3 separate regions of the Homo sapiens genome follow, and all the other regions are linked to region 2. The links are contacts of gene promoters, found by promoter capture Hi-C in blood cells and fetal thymus (Javierre and others, 2016). All regions are on one chromosome and are shown on one strand. The core of a region is centred on a gene start or on the middle of the fragment in contact, and the rest is flanking DNA. Distances in the headings are between cores, read along the strand shown. Region 1 has its middle 66 kb from the start of SH3BGR. Region 2 holds the start of PCP4 (Purkinje cell protein 4). Region 3 overlaps DSCAM (DS cell adhesion molecule).

Evidence for each region. The method cuts DNA at HindIII sites, captures the fragments that hold promoters and counts their contacts. A CHiCAGO score of 5 or more calls a contact.
Region 1: a fragment that was not itself captured here is called in contact with the fragment with the promoter of PCP4 in region 2 in 1 of 17 cell types (M1 macrophages); the score reaches 5.3 in M1 macrophages.
Region 3: a fragment that was not itself captured here is called in contact with the fragment with the promoter of PCP4 in region 2 in 7 of 17 cell types (naive B cells, M1 macrophages, M2 macrophages and 4 more); the score reaches 9.3 in naive B cells.

What each region holds. Positions count from the first base shown.
Region 1 is chr21:39,516,182-39,519,938 of GRCh38, reverse strand. No RefSeq gene overlaps it. Among named protein-coding and RNA genes, the nearest start is that of SH3BGR, 66 kb to the right of the region's middle. The HindIII fragment of the contact is 173 bases long and covers 1,263-1,435 here.
Region 2 is chr21:39,864,977-39,869,030 of GRCh38, reverse strand. PCP4 (Purkinje cell protein 4) reads right to left here and starts at 1,593. Exons shown (of 3, transcript NM_006198.3): 1 at 1,521-1,593. The coding sequence starts at 1,529. The HindIII fragment of the contact is 4,692 bases long and covers 7-4,054 here.
Region 3 is chr21:40,122,306-40,125,961 of GRCh38, reverse strand. DSCAM (DS cell adhesion molecule) reads left to right here. Exons shown (of 33, transcript NM_001389.5): 20 at 1,634-1,767. Among named protein-coding and RNA genes, the nearest start is that of MIR4760, 88 kb to the left of the region's middle. The HindIII fragment of the contact is 6,076 bases long and covers 1-3,656 here.

The sequences.
Region 1 (3,757 bases), core at 100-2,599, 350 kb after region 2:
TTCGGATCTGAGGCCACTGACCAATTTCTAGAACCCTGTGGGTGGACAGTGACCCAGTTCCCTCTGTAACTGGCGCTGGTGGTGGCGGCCACAGCTAGCGGCCCAAAGAACTGGAAGATGAAGGTAATGGAATAGACCTCTGATGGTGCAACTAAGAAAACAAAATAGGTGGATAGTAAGTGAGAAGGGCAAGGCACCTTGCACCAGGGCCCGAACGGCATCGAGTCTGAAGACAGAATGCGAGGACCAAAGCCAGGCGGAGGAGGCGCTCTGGGGCCAAGGCGCACACTGCCCACGGCCAGCCAGGCACCGTAGAGGAACCGTACTGTGGTCCAGGACCGAGAGGAAAGGGCTTGTTGGGAAGGCTGTTCGTGGCTTTGGAGTGGGACACAGGTATATCTCAGCTTCGGTTCAGCCATTGCCGAAGTACTGAATTGAAACCCGGTGCCTCAGTTTCCTCCTTGCCAGATAAAGATGGTATCCACCTCATCGGGTTACTGTGGCAACACACGAAGCCTTTAATACAGAGCCCGGCTCATAGCAGGCACTCCGTTAGTGTTAGTGAATAAAAATAATAGGAAAGCCCACACCCTGATTGTAAGCCTAGACTGTGAGCTTGATTCATGGGAGTCTGCCTCGGAGGTTTCTCTCACCTCCCCTGACAAGATCCGGGTGCTAAATCTACAGAATGCCGGACTGGAACCAGGAGCCCCCCAGGTTAAGCCCCCACTCCACGCCCCCTCTATGCTACTCACACCTGTCCACCTGAGCCCCTCCCCAACTGGAATCTTCCACACCTGAGTACATTTCCGCATCATTGAACAATCTCCTGACTTCTGATTTGGAAAACAGCCAGATGCACTGATACATTTTAAAGATTTCCCAACTCAGTTTTACTACTTCCAAGAAAGTCCTTCCAAAACAAAGTAGTGAAAAAGCCAAGTAACCTAGACAACTGTGAAAGGAATGCCTTTGTTAGGATCGTGAATATATTTCCAAATATTTGGACATATGTTCTATTCGAACTAAAAGTCTTGCGAAAGAAAAGGATAATCAACCCCTTCAATAATCAGAGTTCTGTTTTTACTTATTTGATAAGATAGAACCCCATTAGAGGCTAAAAGACCCCGTATCTTTATCAAAATTGTCAACATGCAATCAGTTGTTGACTGAATTTAGGCTCCTTTTGTATAATGCAAGGATGTGCATTCAAACAATAAATGCACATTTGGCCCAAAATAAAGTTATCTTGGATAAAAGCTTTATAAATGATACACTAATTAATTCACAAATTAATTATAAGTAGAGTTTTTGTCTATTTTCCTCCATCTGGTTGACAAATACCTCTTCCCACCTTCTAATGTCAACTAGCAGTACCCTGACTCGGGTTCACAGCCAGGGGACCTCGGGGGCAGCGACACCATAGCAAGAAGCTTGTCTTTTATCGCCACCTAATGGCCATTCTCTGTTATTACAATGTACCAGGCCCTTCACACCTACTTGCCGTGCTTGCACAGGTGTTAACAGTTAAATGAGGTGCGGTTTTTTTGTTTTGTTTTGTTTTGTTTTTGAGAAAGGGTCTTGCTCTGTCACTCGGGCTGGAGAGCAGTAGCGTGATCAATGGGCTGGGCTAGAGTGCTGGCTCAAGCAATCCTCCCACTTTGGCCTCCCGAGTAGCTGGAACTACAAGCACACGCAACCATGCCTGGCTGATTTTTGTATTTTTTGTAGGGATGGGGTCTTGCTATGTTGCCCAGGTTGGTCTTGAACTCCTGGGCTCAGGCAATCCACCCACCTCGGCCTTCCAAAGTGCTGGGATTACAGGCATAAGTCACCACACCTGGCCCGGGTAAATGAGTTTTGAAAGAAAACATTTGTAGGCTGGGCATGGTGGCTCACGCCTGTAATCCCAGTATTTTGGGAGGCTGCAGTGGGCAGATTGCCTGAGGTCAGAGTTCGAGACCAGCCTGTCCAACACGGTGAAACCCCATCTCTATTAAAAATACAAAAATTAGCCAAACATGGTAGTGCAGGCCTATAGTCCCAGATACTCCGGCAGCTGAGGCAGGAGAATCACTTGAACCTGGGAGACAGAGCTTGCAGTGAGAGTGCCACTGCGCTCCACCCTGGCGACAGAGCGAGACACTGTCTCCAAAAAAAAAAAAAGAAAAAAAATCTGTAAATATTTCCAAAGAATCTTTGCAGGCAATACAGTTCATTCTCTTCCTATACCTTTCACATTTCATTGAGAAAACTAAGAACTCAAAGACAACCACAAAGGAAGATTTCAGTCCAAAGAAACGAGAGGGAGCCCAGGAGAGGAGAGTGGGGAAAGGAGAGTGTATTGTTCAGTGGCTGGAAAAAAAATACACTCAAATTTTTGTGTAGTTGCTTTTCTAATTAAAAAAAAAAAAAAGGAAAGAAAAGAAACAGTTCCTTTGCGTGTTCAGGCCTCCTTTATACTATTAAACCAAGCTCTTTGAACTTCGATTCACTTCAGATCATCATGCAATTATTCCATTTCTCTGGTCTCTTTTGGTTTTTCTTCAAAATGATTTTCCTTATTCACTTGGGGTTTCCTTGTGAGTTATTCTTTTTTACAGATTCACAATGCTGCTTAGTTTCTAGAAGCTTCCTATATTGAAAAGCATTCAGATTTTTTAATCGTATTTTGATACCATACAGTCCATATCTGGGATTCTCCTCACTGTGCCACTGGATTGCTAACCATGGAAGGCTGAAGGGACAGCTGAAGCCAAAACTAGAAGAGAACTGATACCATCCATAGGGTACTATTGATCTAAGTGATTTTTGCATTTCAGTGATACTTTAAATAAAATGAAACAGGAGCAAATACAAATACCCTTCTAAGATGTTAATGTTTCTGACTACAGGAAAACAATATAAGAAAAAATTAATTCAATTTAAATAAGTGGTCTGGGTTTTTATCTTTGCTTATTGTCAGCATAGATATTTATTTTCTTTTTAAAATATGAGAAATAGCAAGGTGGGCAGATCTCTTGAGGACAGGAGTTCCAGACCAGCCTGGCCAATATGGTGAAACCCTGTCTCTACTAAAAATACAAAAATTAGCTGGGCGTAGTGGCACGTGCCTGTAATCACAGCTACTCAGGAGGCTGAGGCAGGAGAATTGCTTGAACCTGGGAGGCGGAGGTTGCAGTGAGCTGAGATCCTGCCACTGAACTCCAGCCTGGGCGATAGAGCAAGACTCTGTTTCAAAAAAAAAAAAGAGAGAGAGAGAGAGAGAAATAGGAGGAAAATTGGCACCTAACTAAATCTATCTCCATCCTACTCTGCCATGAAAGAGAGAAAAGTCAGCCCTGAGCAAGAAGAAGAAAGTTAAGGCCTATTTGTGTAGGGGGTTGTTGTAAAAATTATGCAAGCTTTTTAGATAGGACATAATTTAGTGCAATGAAATTAAAAGTAGAAATTAATTTTCAATTATATGAATTTCCATTTTACTGTGGTCTTTTACCTTAAGCAAAGGGAGAAATGTTTTTAACACAGACTACTTCAATGATTGGAAACAAAATAACCTAATTCTATTCAAAATGCCTTTTTTTGTTACTAGGGTAACAAGAAAAGAGCCGTTTCCCAGAGTTCATGACAGCCACGAGACTTCTGCAACTGCAGAATACACTCTGAAATAACACCAACAGACTCTGCTGCAAAATTAGGAGGCAGACTCCAGAGGGGAAAGTTTATGCCACTCCAAGTTGAATTGCCATAATTAACA
Region 2 (4,054 bases), core at 344-2,843:
GAAGCTTCTGAAATATCTGTAGAGTCCAGCAGAAAGCCCCTCCTCCTAGCATGTGGGAAATGGAGGTCTCATCCTCATCATTCCATCTCTATTTCAGAGCCCCAGCTCCTTTCTTTCTTTCTCTTCACCTCCCCTCTCCTCCTCCAACCTCTGCCATCCCCTCTGTTCAGCAAATTCCATACACATTTAGACATCAAGATTCACCCGGCAGTCAACCACCCAGCATTGCAGCCCAAGTCTTGGCTCTACTGTTCTTTAGCTGGTGACCTCAAACCACTTAGTTCCCATCTCTGTGCCTCAGTGTCCTCATCTGTCAATTGGGAATAATAATGGTGCCCACTGCACGGAGTTGTTGAGAGGTTCAAAGAAGGTGACAGATGCAGAGACAGCCTGACACTGTCGGCACACAGACCATTAGGCAAGTGTTAGCTGCTGTTACAGGTACCATTGATTGTGGTGGTGGGAGAATTCCCATCTTCCACCCCACAGTTGGTCTCTCCCTGCCTCAAACCCCTGGCTTTGTCCTAAACCCCATTTCTAAGTTTTATAGTGCTTTGCTCTTCTTCTTGTCATGTTTACATCAAAAATCACCCATCAGAGAGATAAAAGCAGGGAGGAGGCATTTTATTTCTGAAGTTGTTAATTTTATCCTAGACTTCCAAGAAAAGAATCATCCATCTGTCAAAAAGAGACAGAGAAGATAAAAGATCTTTAAAAGTAATTATTTAAGTGCCAACCAAGAGGAAATGAAGATGCATTTGGCTCGGTTATTGAGTTGAATTAGAGAATGGTGTTGTACCACCGCTAATCTGCTTCATAGATGAGAAAAAAGGAGAAGATGATTTTAGAAAAACAAACGTGCTGTCAGTTGGCCCCAGTAAAACACATTCTGTATAAACAAGTTTAGAGAAGTGACTTTGGATTTGCAAAATTGTAGCTCTTCTTCTGCCGGGGCCGCCTCCGGTCTTAGAGCCACAGATCTATACACACGGATGTTTCCCAGTTCCTACTACTTTTTGCATTTCTTTCCCTGGTGCTCTGATTAACTGCAGAGGTAGTTTGTACAACTGAGCCATGAAATGCCACCCAACGGCCAGCCCTTTCCCCACCTTGTCCCCTTCCCTTCCATGGCTTGCATTCACCAGATGACCACCTGCCCACTCACATTCTGAAAGGTATCACCGCGGGAATCATGCAAAGACACGCATCTTCGTAAGAGAATAAAACATTTGGCTTTCTCTTCTGAGCTCTAAAACCCAAAGCACTTTTCAAAGTCACCATTCAATCAGAAAGCAAACCTTTCTCCTCCTCAGGCTAATTGTAGAAGTTGCAAACTTAACCAATTTCTGCACTTACCATTCAAACCAAGAGATTAATCCTGTCAGTTCTCCAAGCAAATAATTACAGGATTAATTTGTTCCTCAGCACTGCTAAGTCCCTCACATTTCCTGAGACTAATCCTTCAGCCGAGGTCCCTTCTCACTCCTAAGTTTCCCTCTCCAGGTCGAAGCATCACTCACCTCACTCATGTTGGCTCTAACTCAACAGCTCAGTCCCGCCGCTCAGCACAGAGAACACTGCTCAGGGGTCGCTGCTCCACCGGTTCTGGCTTTTCTCTTAAAAAGAGCTGCCCGGTGGCATCATGCCTCCCTGGAGCCAATGAGATGCATTCACCTGTCTGCAAGCCTGGCCGACATCTGAGAGCACCAGGGGCCACCTAGTGGTGCAAAAGAGAACGGCACGTTAGGTCGCTGCTCCAAATTCCGCCAGGATGGAAGGAAATGCTCGATTTCTTTAAAAAGTAATACACTCCAGCCTGGGCAGCAGAACGAGACCCTGTCTCTTTTAAAAAAAAAAAAAAAGTAAAAAGTAAAAGCTAAAGTTTCAAAGATCATCACAGGGATGCCATTGTGCGTTTTTCAATGAGTGCAAGATTTACATGCATGTAAAATACCTTTCAAATGTCAATGGGAAGGATTGTTTTTCTAAGGGAAGAGGAGCTCTGAAAATACCTGCGTGCCCGCTCACGCACTTTCAGGTTTTCCCAGGAGCTGTGTTTCCCTTGCCCTTTATAACACAAAACTCAGCCCAAGGACTTTAATATCTCTGCTGTCTCTCCCCTATCCCATATCTGTCGCCCTGCTTGTACCCTGAGCTGGAAGGATAAGAGTAGATGGACTGGGACATGGGAATGGGTCCCCACGACCTCAACAAAGGAGGCGAGCGGCTCCAGCAGCCTTGCTGATGTGCCCTCCTCACAACCACAGTGGGGCCAGGAAGGAGCCTGGGCATTGGCCCTGGCCTGGTTGAAGGTCTCCTTGCCTTAGTCCTGTTCAGCTTTTCCGGGAAGAGGTTCCATCCTTTGTTCAGTCCCAACATCGTGAGGCTCTGAAGAGTCTTCAAGGCATCAGAGTGGGCCCTCAACTGTCCCAAAAAAGCGTTGTGCAGACTGAAGGCACATTCACATCTGTTACTCTGCCAGTCCCGGTACAGGACTGAGAGGGTCTGGCGAGAAGATTGAAGCGTCTTGCCACCCGTCCCCAGCACCCCTCATCTCCCTGTGCAGAGCAGGCCACCAGACTCCAGCCCATCAACCCTCTCTCCTCAGCTCAGCAGCCCCACGCCCTCTGACCTGGACTGCCCTCCTTACATGCCCAGGTCACCGATGCGACCACATCCTCAGGTCCACCTTGGACAGCAAGCAGAAGGCCATGCGCCCCCAAATGGGCACCGGCGAGCACAGGCTGCCCTCAGAGGCCTTGGCCAGGAGCACCAGCTGGTCAGCACCCTCGCCCACAGCGTGGGAACACCAGCCAGCAAGACAGAGTCTCATACATGAGTTATTATAAAATAACCTATATTTCACAGAGCGACAGAAATGAACATTATATATATTATATAAAATATGTGTGTTATATTCGTTTCTTTTATATGTATATAAATTATTTATTTACATATCCTGACCACACAAATCATTTGCAAACTAATGAAGACAGCATCCTCCTTCTCTCACTCCCCTCCTCCTCCTTGCCCCCAATGCCACGCTTGGGAAGGCCCACGTGGGATGCCTTTAGGGTTGCCCAGGTGGTTAGTAGTGGGAGAGAAGGAGGAGGAGGGCAGGGTGAGGAACTGGAGCCATAGTGTCATCTGCGATGTAGGACAGATTGACAGATTGGAAGAAGGGTGCTTGCTTATCTATACTAGGAGACACCTGTGATTTCTCAGGGGCAAAAACCACACCCTCCCCAGGGGCCTCCTGCCCTGTTGGGGGCTGGACCCCCACAGCCTGGAGGTGTAGAAGGGGTCTCCCAGTGTGAGCCTCCATGGGGTCCCTGCTGTGGTCCTCCAGGCTGTGCAGAGGGCATGTGGAGAATCAGCCTGTGCTCTGCTGGCTGGCTCTGGAGCAGACCTGCATTTTCTAACAACACAAAGACACATCAAGGGCTGCAGCAGCCTGAGGTTGGCAGCACAGCAATTAGTGCTGAGGCTCCAAGTAGAGGGGCAGGATTGGAGGTGCAGGGCTGGGCTGAGGCTTTGCTGGGTAGACTCAGCAATTCTTTGGGACCAACCAAGGGACTATGAAGACTATTGGGGAGAATGGGTTATGGTCTGAGCTGATTGCCTTCCTCCAGAATTCATACATTCAAGTCCTAACCCTCAATATCTCAAAATGTGACCTTATTTGGAGAAAAGGTCTTTAAAGAGGTGATTAAGTTAAAACAAGGTCACTAGGGTGGGCCCGAATCCAATAGACTGGTGTCCTTATAAGAAGAATAGATTAGGGCACAGGCACTCGCAGAGGGACAACGCTGTGAGGATACAGGGAGAAGATGGCATCTACAAGCAAAGGAGAGAGGTCTCAGAGGAACCAACCGTGCTGCCCCTTGACCTCACACTTTCAGCCTCCAGAACTGCCAGGGGATACATTTTGGTTGCTTAAGCCACGCAGTCTTGGTACTTGATTCTGGTAGCCACAGGAAACGAACACAGATGCCATCACAAGCACACAGAGAAATTTCAGGGAAAGGATAGAATTACCTTAAGGGGGATTTTT
Region 3 (3,656 bases), core at 780-3,279, 260 kb before region 2:
GAGAAGCTGTCCAGCAAGAATGTTCACTGTGGTGAACACCAACCAGGGGCTTTATGGAAAGGACTGAGAGTGTTGGCTAAGCTGGGGTGTCTACTAGGATTAAAATCCCCAGGAAACGTTCACTCTGCCCTTGTTGTTCAGGAGGAACCCTGGCAGCTCTGAACTAGGTTGTGGATGTCTTAGACATTACCCTCACCTGATAGAGGTTTGTTCTCAAGGGATTTTTTAACCCAGGATCTATCATTTATGTGTGTTACCTTTTCTAGACCTTCCACTGTTAGCAAGACTTGCCAAAAATGGATTACCAAGATTTTATATTTTCAAATGGTGACTATGTCCAACCCAAGTTAGTTCTCACCAGAGCTCTTGGTTTTGTTATGCAGACTTAGAAGAGTCAAGGTGACGATTATGAGAAGCACATTCAACTCCAAAACAATTTACTGAGCAGTTGCATTGCCATCAAAGCAGTAAAAGACTCACAGATTTCTCCAGGGGCTTGCAAGGGACTTCTATTGGTTTGAATTTCAATGTCTCCATCAATGTGGTTGCCCTCCATATGGACAGTGAGGTTAATGAGAAACAAAGCAAGAGCTCTGATGCCTTCCTCACTGGCACCTTTGACATTTTGGCATCTTCTTGTCTTGGCCATCTCACCCGCCCTCACCTCTTCAACCTGGAAAATAAAAGAACAAGAGGAGTGGGACATGCCTTCAATCTCACTCCCAAATCATGCTTAGTATTGCTGCCACCATGTTCTGCCTTCTTAGCTGGTTTACAGAGGAGAGTTTGTCTTACATGGATACTGTGAATCTTTGACCCAATAATCCCTATTCATCAACAATATTTCCATACCTCTCCTGAGCCCAAAGTGGTGCCATTACAAAATGACTAGGGTGAGGGAGGGTGGGGTCTCTGATGGCTGAGGTAGTTCACCCTCATGCTTCTCAAATTCAGGATCCAAAAGGTTCATCCCCAGTACATTCAAAGCCAAAAACTGCAGCAGAAATGAGACTGATCCAGAAGTTAATTCTCCAGTTATCCAGAGGCAGGAAGTTGCCAGGGGCTGAAATGGGTTGGGAAGACTCCCCAGGACAAGAGGGACTAGAACTGACTGTATTAGGTCCTAGAGCTACAAAGGACCACAGACTCCAACATTAGGAATTTATTTGCTGTCTCTGAGTTCTGGAGGCCAGAAGTCCAAAATCAAGGTGTCTGCAGGGCTGGTTCTCTTTAAGAGCTTTGAGACAAGCATCTGTCCTGGGCTTCTCTCCTTGGCTTATAGATGCCCTCTTCTCCCTGTGTCTTCACATCATCTTCCCTCTATACATGTCTGTCTCTGTGTCCAAACTGGCCCTTTTTATAAGGACACCAGAAGTACTGGATTAGGGACCACCCTAACAAACTCATTTTAACTTGATTACCTCTGTAAAGACCCTACCTCCAATTACAGTGTCATTCTGTGGTCCTGGGGGTTAGGACTTCAACATATGCATTTGGGGGGACACAGCGGAACCCATAACGCTCATCCTGAAAGAGCTGAACAGTAAGTGCGGAGTGGGGTCATGTTGGGAAGCGTGGGTCCGCAAGCCCAAGTTGAGGCCCCACCTTGTGACTAAACACACGGCTCTTCCAGTTCCAGGTCCTCCCGCGGGTGTGAAGGCAGCGGCGGCCTCAGCCTCCATGGTCTTTGTGTCCTGGCTTCCCCCTCTCAAGCTGAACGGCATCATCCGAAAGTACACTGTATTCTGCTCCCACCCCTATCCCACAGTAAGTTGGTAAATAACCAAGTGCCTTTCAAGCGTCTGCCAGGGACGAGCTGCAGGTGCTCGCACTGGACAGTTTCGTTCCTTTGTTTCCCACCTACCTGGGTCTTTCCAGTGGTTTTGTTTTGCCCCTGCTGTCTCCACATACAAAACAAAGTCCTCATTTACACCTCATTTGAAAATACGCTCCTGAATCATGACAAGGGGGACAATTGTCTGGAATTATTGTTTATTTGGTGAGTTCCCACTAAACTGCCAGCAGCCTGATCAAAATCAAAACCCAGAGGCCTTGATTGTGCCTTAATTGATAGTCAGTGGACAACACCTATTGATTTTACTGTTGGACTCATCATGATAAGCACTTCACGCCTTCCCTCCCTCCCTTCTCCCTCCCTCCCTCCTTCCCTCCCTCCTTCCTTCCCTCCCACCCTATCCCTCCCTTCTTTCCCTCCTCCATCTCTCACAGGGAAAAGAATAGCAGGCAAAACCCTATTGTGCTAGAAATGAGGGACTTTAATGAAGATCTATTACCCTTACAGTTACAGCAGTCAGCCTGGTTCATTGTGAAGGAACTAAAAGTTATTTACTATTTCAAAGTGTGGTTTTTGTTATCGTTCATATTATTCCTGCTGAATAATCATTATAAAGTTAGACTGCTTCTGAGACCACACCAAAACATATCAAAAAGGGAAATTTTAAAGAAAAGAAAACATTAAAATGACCCACCAAAATTGACGATGTCTTCATGGAAACATTATGACATTTTCTGCAGCAGGTGCCATGTCTCTTCCATCTTTGTATCTCCAGCTCCCAGCATAGAACTTGACACATGTAGTCATTCACTAAGCGTTTGTTGAGTGAATATACACACTGGTTTTGTTTCCTTTCTGGTAAAATACACATAACGTAAAACTTACCCTCTTGACCACTTTGATTATTGAGTTCATCAGTATTACATACCTTCACGTTGTTGTGAAGCCATCACCACCATCCATCTCCAGAACTCTACAAAACCGAAACTCTGTCCCCATTAAACACGAATTCCCTATCCTCCCTCCCACCAGCCCATGGCACCCACCATTCTACTTTCTGTCTCTGGATTTGACTCCTCTAGGGACCTCATGCATGTGGAATGATATAGCATTTGTCATTTAGTGACCAGCTCGTTTCACTTGACATGATATCCTCAAGGTTCATCCATGTTGTAGCATGCGATGGAATCTCCTTCCTTGTTAGGGCTGAAAAATATTCCCAAACAAATTTATGGATTAATCTTTTAATCAAGGTGATATGTTTGCCCAAGCTCAGAGTCCACAGGTGCCCCTGAGGCCTGGTGTACCCCAACAGTGAGTGTGTGAGAGTGTGTGGGCTTGCTTGGCCCATGAAGTTCCGTCTGTTGCTGAAAAAGCAAGGTGTGTTCTCTACTGCTTATGCATTCATGGCAGTACTCTGCCCTTGAAGTCAATATGTAAACGTAAATAGTCAGAGTTAGACTCCACAACATTTTTCTGGGCTTCTTATGTGGTTTTCAATATGCTGTTAATCCTCACTTACTGAATCCTACTATCAAAGCCCAGAGATGGAGAGCAGCGTAGACACTGAAAAAAAGCTGAGCCATTGTGCCCTCAATGCCCAGGGTGGCTTCTGCTTTTCTGCTTATCACTGACATGTCCCGTATTCACCAAAGAGAGACAAAAATTATTGCTGAAATAAAGTATACTCATTTTCCACTAGAACTTGAATTGCATCTGTATTAGTATTCACTCATTCATTCATTGATCTCTTTGCTATGGGATTCACGGTTGCTCTTTTGACTCTAACAGGCTAGAAAGCACCTAGCAGGGTATAGAAAGACCAGCAGCTTCCTCTCGTTTTGTCTTCTCAATCATCTTA